Regions from separate parts of the Homo sapiens genome. Here all the other regions are linked to region 2. The links are contacts of gene promoters, found by promoter capture Hi-C in human tissues and cell types (Jung and others, 2019). All regions are on one chromosome and are shown on one strand. The core of a region is centred on a gene start or on the middle of the fragment in contact, and the rest is flanking DNA. Distances in the headings are between cores, read along the strand shown. Region 1 overlaps SAFB2 (scaffold attachment factor B2). Region 2 holds the start of ZNRF4 (zinc and ring finger 4). Region 3 overlaps PTPRS (protein tyrosine phosphatase receptor type S). Region 4 overlaps PTPRS (protein tyrosine phosphatase receptor type S).

Region 1 (2,731 bases), core at 27-2,526, 150 kb after region 2:
CTGGGTCTCTTTAAAATATAACTGTTTGGCTGGGCGTGGTGGCTCACGCCTGTAATCTCAGCACTTTGGGAGGCCGAGGTGGGAGGATCACGAGGTCAGGAGATCAAGACCATCCTGACTAACACAGTGAAACCCCATCTCTACTTAAAATACAAAAAATTAGCCAGGCCTGGTGGCGGGCACCTGTAGTTCCAGCTACTTGGGAGGCTGAGGCAGGAGAATGGCATGAACCCAGGAGGCAGAGCTTGCAGTGAGCCGAGATCGCGCCACTGCACTCCAGCCTAGGCGACAGAGCGAGACTCCGTCTCAAAAACAAACAAAAACAAAAACAAAAACAAAAAAAAACACAACTGTTCAAAGCAAAAAAGCCAAACCACAACAAGTCAAAGCCAATAAAATATTGGGTGACTTCTTAAAGAGAAGTAAACCGTATGACAATAACATCACAAAGATCGACGGGAGGGGAAATGCAAGTATATTCCCACAGAGTTCTTGCACTACGCTGAAACCAACAGAGCACCCCTTGCAGACAGACTGTAAGGGAAGATGTGTACTGTAATCCTACAGTAAACCACAATGACACAGAGTTAGAGCAAATAAGCCATCAGTCATAAAAAGGACTCGACCCACAAGAAGGCAGATAAATGGGAAAAAGAGATCAATAAACAAACATGAACAGAAAATAGAGAACAAGACAGTAGATCTAACGCCAAGCCCACCACCACTGGCGCGCAGAGTAAACATTTCCCCGGGACACAGGAGTCCTGGTCTCTGCCCTATCTCTGACTCAGGGCATCAACCTAAGCAAGGCATTCCCCGTCTCTGGACCTCATGGCCCCAACTGTGAAATGACAAGGTGGAACCCACAAGCTTGAGGTTCCCATCTGACGTCCTTGGTTTTGACCACACAAATGGAGGAGTCAAGGCTCTGCCTGAATCTGTCCAGGGCCAAAGGGACAGAAGACTCTCCTGAGAGAAACACAGATGCCACTTCCCATTCTACCTTCCCATCAAATTAATCATCCTTACAAGTATATCTCTTCTGATGACAGACAAAACCCAAATGAGAGCAGGCACCATACTAAGCTTGTATGTCCCTATCCCTGAGCTATGCCATCCGCCCTGGAGGCTCTGCATACTTCAGTCAAGTAGCTGAGTGGTGTCCTGCCCCTCTGGCCTTCCTACGTCCTTCTGTTTTTGTCCAGAGCTGAGCCCCACAGGTAAGGCCAACTCTGTCACTCACGCCTCAGCTGAATGTCACTTCTTCAGCGAGCTCTGCTGAAGCTGCCTCCCAAATCTAAACACGGCCTCCCCAACACACTGACGGCGTGCTCTAATATTCCTTAATACGCTCATCACAACACATCATATGTGTTTATTTCTTAAATGGTCTTTTTCCCGCCAGACTAAAAAATCTGTGATGACAGTGACCACGTATGTTTACCTCTGCTTAATCATCAGTGTCCGAGTGAAGTCAACAAAGTAACTGAATAAACAGGTTATTCATGGCTATAAGAATTTCCTAAGCCCTTGCTGAACACACAGACTGTTCAGAGAAAAATTGAACAGCACGCTTTCTCCGGGTCCTGTCCGCTTCTTAAGCAATGAAACATTAACCAACACCTGATCGGGTGACACAGACCTAGACAAAGGAACGGCTTCTGTAGCCAGAAAACTGTGTCAGACAGGGCCCACTCTGCCTGGAATCAGGGCACCCTCCAGACACTAAATGGTCCGAACCTTGTCCCTTGGAAGCCACTCCCCAGAGGCACCCAGGAGACCAGGGCAGTGCCAATTGCTTACCAGAAGACTCTTGGCTAGGCGCGGTGGCTCACGCCTGTAATCCCAGCATTTTGGGAGGCCAAGCAGGCAGATCACATAGGTCAGGAGTTGGAGACCAGTCTGGCCAACATGGCGAAACCCCATCTCTACTGAAAATACAAAAATTAGCCAGGCATGGTGGTGGGTGCCTGTAATCCCAGCTACTCGAGAAGCTAAGGCACGAGAATCACTTGAACCTGGGAGGGAGGCGGAGGCTGCAGTGAGCCAAGATCACACCACTGCACTTCAGCCTGGGCAACAGAGCGAGACGCAGTCTCAAAAAAAAAAAAAAAAAAAAAAAGAACAACAAACAAACAAAAAAAGAAGACTCTTAATTAATTTCAAACAGTGGAATCATTTTAAATTGTCCTCACCTTCCTTTGGAAAGCTGCTGAATTGTACTATTTTTCTCCCACCCCCATGAGCAGCATCTTAGTGATTTATTTTTGAACCACGATCATGTTCTAGTTATGAGACTATATACTTAAAATGCTAAATGATATGAAAGTCAATTATTCACTTCATTCTTTTTTTTTTTTTTTTTTTTTATGACATAGTCTCGCTCTGTTACCCAGGCTGGAGTGCAGTGGCACAATCTTGGCTCACTGCAACCTCTGCCTCCTGGGTTCAAGTGATTCTCCCACCTCAGCTTCCCGAGTAGCTGCGACTACAGGCACAGAACACCACGGCTGGCTGATTTTTGTATTTTTAGCAGAGACAGGGTTTCGCCATGTTGGCCAGGCTGGTCTCCAACTCCTGACTTTAGGTGATACGCCCGCCTCGGCCTCCCAAATTATTCTTAAGGGAAAAATCTCATCATGTAAGCTTTAAGTTTTGCACAAGACAAAAGACCACCAGTCTCTTTGAGACCAGTTAGAAAGAACCCCAAGAACATTGAGAGAGAAGCTGT
Region 2 (2,713 bases), core at 108-2,607:
CTGGGTTCGTTGACTTATGGAGCTCATTCGACTGGGGACCTCTAGGAGATATGGTAGAACATACTTCGATTTGTCCCATAAGAGGGACGAGGGAGTGGGGGCATTTATCTACCACCTCCCATCTGTCACTGGCTGAGGGCTGCTCTGAGAGGTATTAGGCCAACACAGAAAATCTAAAGACTAAGTAGTCAGCCTGGCAAAGTGAAGTTGAGGAGCAAGAATTCTGTTCCAGGCAGAGGGAACAGCATTTGCAAAATTCTAGAGGTGAACAAAGCAAGATGCCTCTGGGACATTGCAAATCATCCAGGCTTCAGAGATTGGCAGGCGCCCAACCACAGGGGTGCATGTAGGCCACAGAGAAGAGTGTGGGCTTTATCTGGAGGGCAATGGGGAGCCATGGGAGAGTTTAGAGCATGGGAAAGACTATGTTACAGGTCTGGAAGCTGAGGCCCAGAGAGGCTAAGGAATTTAGCTGATGTCATACAGCTTATGAATGGCAGAGACAGAAATCCGACTTGAGTGGGCTGCAGACAGATTGAGGGTGTGAAATTTGGGGGATGGGGACTGGGGAGGAGGTGAGGCTGATGCCCAGGGCTGAAGCTCAGGCAGGGGGCACAGTTGGAGACCCAGCTGGAGAGGCAATGCTATAGGGAGAGAGAATGAAGCTGGTGCAAGCCTGGAGGCCAACCTGGCGGTGCGGACTTGGGACCACTGACCCCCACCAGCCCCACCCTGACCCTGGCACTTGACTCTCCCTCCAAATCAAGTCCAGGAGGGCTCTGAGGATATATGGACTCAGACCTGAGTCCGGATAAAAGAGCCAGCTACGGAGAGAAAGGGCTTTCCAGGCAGGAGGCCCAGCCCATGCAAAGGCCCTGGGGCAGGATCCTGCCTGGTGTGTTGGAGGAACAGCAAGGAGATCTGTGTGGCTGGAGCAGAGTGAGGGATGGTGACAGGGGGTCAGGAATTTGGGTTTTAAGCACTGATCTCATTGTAGGGGGGCGTGGCTTGAACAAGTCTGGGTCACTCTTGGAGTCTCAGACAAGGGTAACATTGAACCTTCTACAGTGTGTTGCTAGGAACCTCCAGAAGCTGATGCTGGTAGCGTCTTCGCACAGTGAGGGCTGAATCTGCACTGCTGGGGGCCGGCAGCCCTTTTGAAGCATCCCTGGGCCTCCTTGGGTCCAAAGATACCCTGAGCCTTCAAGAAGTTATCTCAAAGCTTGCCCGGGTACCGGCAAATCACAGACCTAGGAATGATCCATTGGCCACAGGCCCAGGCAGCTGGCAGCTCCTGGGACAGAATGTAGCAGGGCGATGTCACAGAAGCTGGGGGCATCTAGAACCCTGGTGACTCCTGGTCTCCATGTCATCTGCCAGAAAGGCCACCTGCGCCAGCACCTCCTGAGACCGGCCTTCAAAGACACGACGCATGCCGCTCTGCCGTCCGGAGCACTTAATGCCTAGAGCCAGCAGGGTCCCAGTGGCCGCGTCACTGCCTCTGAGCCACGCGGTCATTCCAACTCAACTGCCCTCGCGTCCTGGCCACAGGCCCCCTGGGAGACCCCGGAGATGCCCAAAGGCCTCATGCCTGCCGCCTCCAGTGGGACCTAGCAGCACACAGACAGCGAAGCGGGTGACCATGGGGTGGCCACGGCCGGGCCGAGCCCTCGTGGCAGTCAAAGCCTTGCTGGTCTTGTCGCTGCTCCAGGTGCCCGCGCAGGCAGTGGTACGGGCCGTGCTGGAAGACAACTCGAGCTCGGTGGACTTTGCGGATCTGCCGGCGCTGTTCGGCGTCCCCCTGGCCCCCGAGGGCATACGGGGCTACCTGATGGAGGTCAAGCCAGCCAACGCGTGCCATCCCATCGAGGCCCCGCGACTGGGCAACCGCTCTCTGGGCGCCATCGTGCTGATCCGCCGCTACGACTGCACCTTCGACCTCAAGGTGCTGAACGCCCAGCGCGCCGGCTTCGAGGCGGCCATCGTGCACAACGTCCACTCCGACGACCTCGTGAGCATGACCCACGTCTACGAGGACTTGAGGGGCCAGATCGCCATCCCCTCAGTGTTCGTGAGCGAGGCCGCCTCGCAGGACCTGCGGGTCATCCTGGGCTGCAACAAGTCGGCCCACGCGCTGCTCCTGCCCGACGACCCACCGTGCCACGACCTGGGCTGTCACCCCGTGCTGACCGTGTCCTGGGTGCTGGGCTGTACCCTGGCCCTGGTCGTATCAGCCTTCTTTGTCCTGAACCACCTGTGGCTCTGGGCCCAGGCCTGCTGCAGCCACAGACGGCCGGTGAAGACGTCTACCTGCCAGAAGGCCCAGGTCCGCACCTTCACGTGGCACAACGACCTGTGTGCCATCTGCCTGGATGAGTATGAGGAGGGCGACCAACTCAAGATCCTGCCCTGCTCCCACACCTACCACTGCAAATGCATTGACCCCTGGTTCTCCCAAGCCCCCCGGCGCTCCTGCCCCGTGTGCAAACAGTCGGTGGCCGCCACAGAAGACAGCTTTGACTCCACCACCTACAGCTTCAGGGACGAGGACCCCTCCCTACCGGGCCACCGGCCCCCCATCTGGGCCATTCAAGTCCAGCTACGCTCCCGGAGGCTGGAGCTGCTGGGCCGCGCCAGTCCCCACTGCCACTGCAGCACCACGTCCCTGGAGGCAGAGTATACCACTGTCTCCTCAGCCCCTCCTGAGGCCCCT
Region 3 (2,700 bases), core at 144-2,643, 170 kb before region 2:
CCAGCCGGGGCAACAGACCAAAACTCTGTCTCAAAAAAAAAAGAAAAAAGGAAAAAGGGAAAGATTGTATGTATGTGTAGAAACAGTGCTGCCTCCAGGGAGCTAAGTGGCTGGACACAGGGACAGAGATTTCCACTTTGGTACCTTTTTACATGTAGAACTAAAGACAAATTGAAGAAGTTATTTTTATTTTTATTTTTATTTTATTTTTTCTTCTTCTTCTTATTTTTTTTTACAGAGACAGGGTCTCACTCTCACCCAAGGCTGGAGTGCGGTGGTGCAATCATAGCTCACTGCAGCCTCAAACTCCTGGGCTCCAGGGATCCTCTGGCCTCAGTCTCCTGAGTAATTGGAACCACAGGCGCTTGCTACCACATGCGGCTAATTTTTAATCTTTTGCAGAGACAGGGTCTCGCTATGTTTCCCAGGCTGGTCTGGAACTCCTGGGCTCAAGTGAACCTCCCATCTCGGTCTCCCAAAGCTCTGGGATTAGCAGTGTGAGCCACCGTGCCCAGCTGAAGTTATCTATTTTTATTTTTATTTTTTTGAGACAGAGTCTCACTGTGTCACCCAGGCGGGAGTGCTGTGGCGTGATCTCGGCTCACTGCAAGCTTCACCTCCCGGATTCACGCCATTCTCCTGCCTCAGCCTCCCGAGTAGCTGGGACTATAGGCGCCCGCCACCATGCCTGGCTAATTTTTTTGCATTTTTAGTAGAGACGGGGTTTCACCGTGTTAGCCAGGATGGTCTCGATCTCCTGACCTCGTGATCCACCCACCTTGGCCTCCCAAAGTGCTGGGATTACAGGCGTGAGCCACCACGCCCAGCCTGAAGTTATTTTAAAACATAAAATTGCTTAAATAAAAAAGTGAGCTGATTAAAGAAAAAATGGAGCAAAACTTTGTTTTAAGTAAAAGTTTGGGGTCTGAGGAGAGGCTGAGGTCTAACAACTCAAACTTGAGCAACGCTAGGACTTTGAGCCTCTACGACCAGCTAGAAAAGGGTAGAGTGAGTCCAGGGGCCACACAGGTTGACCAGAAAAGTTCTGGAAAGTTCCAGCTATTCAGAAGCCCAGAGAGGCCTTAAGAAGGCCCGAGGTTCCAAGGGTAGGTCCCTGTGGGCCCCAACGCCTACCCATCCATGGCTCAGGCTGGGCTTTAAACAAAACAGAGTTCCTGCCCCAGTGGCCTGACCAGCCTAACCTCCCTCACTCAAGGCTCTGCTCCTGTTGATATGACCGTATGTGTGTGCTTTGAGCATCTGTCCCAAAAGTCACTAGACCTGGCCGGGCGTGGTGGCTCATGCCTGTAATCCCAGCACTTTGGGAGGCTGAGGCGGATGGATTACCTGAGGTCAGGAGTTCAGGACCAGCCTGGCCAACATGATGAAACCCCGTCTCTACTAAAAAAATACAAAAATCAGCCAGGCGTGGTGGCGGGTGCCTGTAATCCCAGCTACTTGGGAGGCTGAGGCAGGAGAATCGTTTGAACCCAGGAGGCAGAGGGTGCAGTGGGCTGACATCCTGCCATTGCATTCCAGCCTGGGTGACAAAAGCAAAACTCTGTCTCCAAAACAAAACAAAACAAAAAAATCACTAGACCCACCATGTACAGGAATGCACAGCCTCCCTTAACTTTTTTTTTTTGTTTGTTTTTTGAGATGGAGTCTCGCTCTGTTGCCCAGGCTGGAATGCAGTGGCGTAATCTTGGCTCATTGCAACCTCCGCCTCCCAGGTTCAAGTGGTTCTCCTAACTCAGCCTCCCAAGTAGCTGGGATTACAGGAACCCACCACAACACCCAGCTGATTTTAGTATTTTTAGTAGAGAGGGGGTTTCAGCATGTTGGCCAGGCTGGTCGCGAACTCCTGACCTCAAATGATCCACCCACCTCAGCCTCCCAAAGTGCTGGGATTACAGGTATGAGGCGCCGCGCCTGGCCCCTCAACTCTTATTTATCCCTCTGTTGCAGCAACAGCCAATCCCACTGTACTGATTCAGGAATGTTAATGGGTTCACAGAGCTCAGAAGCTGGGCATGGTAGCTCACGCCTGTAATCCCAGCACTTTGGGAGGCCAAAGCGGGAGGATCAACTGAGGTCAGGAGTTCGAGACCAGCTTGAACAACATGGTGAAACCCCATCTCTACTAAAAATACAAAAATTAGCCCGGCATGGTGGCGCATGCCTGTAATCCCAGCTACTCGGGAGGCTGAGGCAGGAGAATTGCTTGAATCCAGGAGGCAGAGGTTGCAGTGAGCTGAGATCACGCCATTGCACTCCAGCCTGGGGGACAGGGCAAGACTCTGTCTCAAAAAACAAACCACCACAAAAAAGATCACAGAGTTCAGAAATAACAGCACTGGAATTTGAACCCGGGTTTCTGCCTCCAAAGCCGACATCTTACTGTCCCTTCCACATCCAGAACTTGAGCCTGATTAGGGCAGATGTTTTGCTCCACATTGAGGCTGGGGCTGCCCCCTCCTTCTGGCCTCAGGAATGGTGACCCGGGGCCATGCGTCCTCAGCCAAGGACATGAGGAAAAGTCACTGTGGCCGGGTCAAGAATGTTACTTCTGGTAAAAATCCCTCCCTCTGGAGCTGCTGGAAGGAAGGGCAGAAGCTGGCTGAGGGTAGAGACGCATCCAGCTGCCTGTCTGACCTAGAGCCAGAACACACCCCTTGCCCCCTCCAATCCAGCAAGCAA
Region 4 (2,700 bases), core at 136-2,635, 200 kb before region 2:
TGGAACTCACAGAAAGGAAGTAGTGTAGCCAGAGCTCAAAGCCAGGCCAGCCTGGTTGCTGCCTCTCAGAGAAAACAAGGCTTTTCTCACCATAGTGAGTAACGAGGATTACGGCCAAGTATCAATCCTTGGCATCTAGCTCTTTCAAACTTGTGTGTCCTGACCCACTGGGGACACCAAAGAGGAAAAAAGTACCCATCACCTATACCAAACTCCATGTAATGGCCAGTTGCCACTGGTTGAATAATATCCAGTAGCCATCATAATAAATGTCCAGAAGCCATCAGTAAAAGGCTTATACTCAAAGGAATTGTTGGAACGTCAAAGGGAGTAAGATCTAGCTTTAGGATCTAAAGGTTAAGTGCCAGGCCAATTTATCTATTCTGTAAGGGTCAACATCTTATCCAAAAGACCCTGTTCCTGTTTGATCTTATCTTAAAATATCTCTCCATAGGGATGTCATAATTTGCAAGGTACCTTTAACTTTTTTTAGAAGTAGAGACAAGGGGATACCTGTTGAATATGTAAAAGACTTGCAGTACAGGGTTAACTATAAATCAGTTTAATGTGGGAGGGCATTTATCAACAGCAGTAATTTTAGGGTTCACAATCCCCAACATGGCCGGCAACCATCAGTTAAATGGACCTGCCAATAAATTATAATGGCTCCTCTGACACCTAAGAAACTTGCCCACTTGCTTTCTCACCCGCCTCATTTGTTTCAAAGGGTGTGCTCTAGGAAGAGGGCTGGTTTGCCACGAGTTTAAGGGAGGATCATGCCCATTGGCACTAGGTGGTTCAGATCTCCCCCTCCCTGGCGGCCTTGTAAGGCCTCTGGGCATCCTCCCAGCTGGCAAGGGCGGGTGACTGACGCTGTGTTCTGCCCGGTTTGGTGCTGGCACCCACCCATGTCATCTTTCCACCCCCGGCTGCAAGCTTGAGGTGCAGGTTAGAAAGTAAGGTGGGCACGGTGCCCACGGGACGGAGAGGCCCCGCGGGACCCCCGCCCCCAATTACCGACCTGAATGGAGGGTCCAGGCAGGTTATAAGGGGACCACACCAGCCTTGGTCCTCAGCACGCTCCAGCTGGCTCTGGTTTCCAGCTCTTCTCGTCACCGAGTAGCCGGGGGGTCCCAGCGGGGGGACCCGCTTGGGCGAGGGGGTCGGGAGGGTGGGCGGTGGGGTGGGGGGGTGGCAGGTTGTGGGGGGTGGTCGCTTCAAACCCCGATTCACATGGAAAAACAACTCAAAAACCGTCAAAGCAACCAGGAGACGACCCCTCCCCCAGGCAGGAAGAGGCAGAAACACAAAAACCAAAAAAGGGGGTTGGGAGTGGGGGCGAGGGTAAAGGGGAGGAAGGAAACTCAAAAGTGAGGTGATCTGGTTGAAGCACTAGGTAGGGAACCCCGACAGTGTCAGACATCTCAACGATTCAGCAAGCCGCAGCTCCAAGGGGTGCGGGGGCGGCGGGGGGGGGGGGGGGGGCTCTGCTGGGCATTTTGGGGTGGGAGAAGATTCTAGATACTTCTCCAAACTCCAAAATGAATATGCGGATGGAGAGGGCAGGGGAGAGATGCCAAGAAATTGTGCAGCCTCCGGGGGGTTTATTTAAGCTTAGATTACACCTGTCGGGGGGGAAGGGAGGGGTTGGAAACATTCCTAATTCCATAGCCCACTTCTTGTCCTCTCCTTTGAACTCCAGCCTGTAGCCCAAGGAGGGTGGGCACCGCCCCTCAGCCCACCTGCGTATTTTCTGCTACCCTTCTCCATCATTTTGCTGTGCCTCCTTCCCTCCCTCCCGCCTCTCCCCCCCACCGCCAGCTCCCTCCGCCACTGAGGTAGCGTGCAAGGCCCGGAGGGACCTGGCTGGCTCCCTGGCCCACGGGCTGACCAGCGGCCTTGGCAAGTCATTGGTATTTTGAGCTGGACCTTTGGATGCGCTCTAGATACTTTTTTTTTTTTTTTTGGTACCCGCTCTCTCTTTCTCTCATTTCTTTTTGTTTTTCCCCCAGTTCTGGCCAATCCATGGACTTCCCTCACCACCCCCCCAACCTCGCTGTGGCCGCCGGAGACACGGGGCTTTCCAAATGACAAGGTGTAATCTAATATTCCCCTCACAAACCCCCTCCCCCAACAGAGGAAACAGCGAATGCAGAGGGTGTGAGGCAGGCAGCAGGCGAGAGGTGTTCAGAGCTCAGTGTTCCTGCAGAGTGACCCCCTCCTCGCCGCCCACCCTGGCCAAATGGAGGGACGCCTGCCTTCCCGCCCCTGGAGTCCCCTCTCCCCGATGTGATGAGGGTGGGATGAGAAGGTCTGGGTCTGATCTAACACTGCCTGCCCCTAGGGTTAAGCCAGCGGCCTTAGGTAGGGAGGCGTGGCCAGGTATAGTAAGCACAAACTAGGGAGCTGGCCAACACACCTCAACGCGAGGCTTTCTGGGAATACAGGAGGTGAGGGGTGTTCCAGCCCACCATCTATGTCTGTCCCTGTTTTGGGGGGCCAAGAGGTAAGGGGAACACCTGGGGTCACATCCATCAATTTTAGGGCTTGGGTATTGGAAATTTAATTTAAAAAACAATTTTTCCCCATAAATTTGCATAGATGGATTGATCTGAAAAGGCCTGGGGACAGGTCACAAATACTGAAAAAGAAGACCTGGGAATCGGGCAATCTAGGCCTTGCTGGTGTCACGCAGCAGGT

Evidence for each region. Contacts are between HindIII fragments. The study calls those that stand out against the background at their distance.
Region 1: a contact is called between a fragment that was not itself captured here and the fragment with the promoter of ZNRF4 in region 2, in 5 of the 25 tissues and cell types used here (H1 embryonic stem cells, dorsolateral prefrontal cortex, liver and 2 more).
Region 3: a contact is called between a fragment that was not itself captured here and the fragment with the promoter of ZNRF4 in region 2, in 4 of the 25 tissues and cell types used here (IMR-90 fibroblasts, dorsolateral prefrontal cortex, liver and 1 more).
Region 4: a fragment that was not itself captured here is called in contact with the fragment with the promoter of ZNRF4 in region 2 in 2 of the 25 tissues and cell types used here (dorsolateral prefrontal cortex and lymphoblastoid cells).

Annotation. Positions count from the first base shown.
Region 1 is chr19:5,606,953-5,609,683 of GRCh38, forward strand. All of the region lies in intron 9 of SAFB2 (scaffold attachment factor B2), which reads right to left. Among named protein-coding and RNA genes, the nearest start is that of SAFB2, 14 kb to the right of the region's middle. The HindIII fragment of the contact is 3,966 bases long and covers 1-2,731 here.
Region 2 is chr19:5,454,060-5,456,772 of GRCh38, forward strand. ZNRF4 (zinc and ring finger 4) reads left to right here and starts at 1,358. Exons shown (of 1, transcript NM_181710.4): 1 at 1,358-2,713. The coding sequence starts at 1,433. The HindIII fragment of the contact is 14,927 bases long and covers 104-2,713 here.
Region 3 is chr19:5,279,154-5,281,853 of GRCh38, forward strand. All of the region lies in intron 2 of PTPRS (protein tyrosine phosphatase receptor type S), which reads right to left. Among named protein-coding and RNA genes, the nearest start is that of PTPRS, 60 kb to the right of the region's middle. RefSeq lists an enhancer at 1,164-1,333. The HindIII fragment of the contact is 3,738 bases long and covers 1-2,700 here.
Region 4 is chr19:5,249,480-5,252,179 of GRCh38, forward strand. The region is part of intron 9 of PTPRS (protein tyrosine phosphatase receptor type S); the gene reads right to left. Among named protein-coding and RNA genes, the nearest start is that of PTPRS-AS1, 73 kb to the left of the region's middle. The HindIII fragment of the contact is 4,501 bases long and covers 1-2,700 here.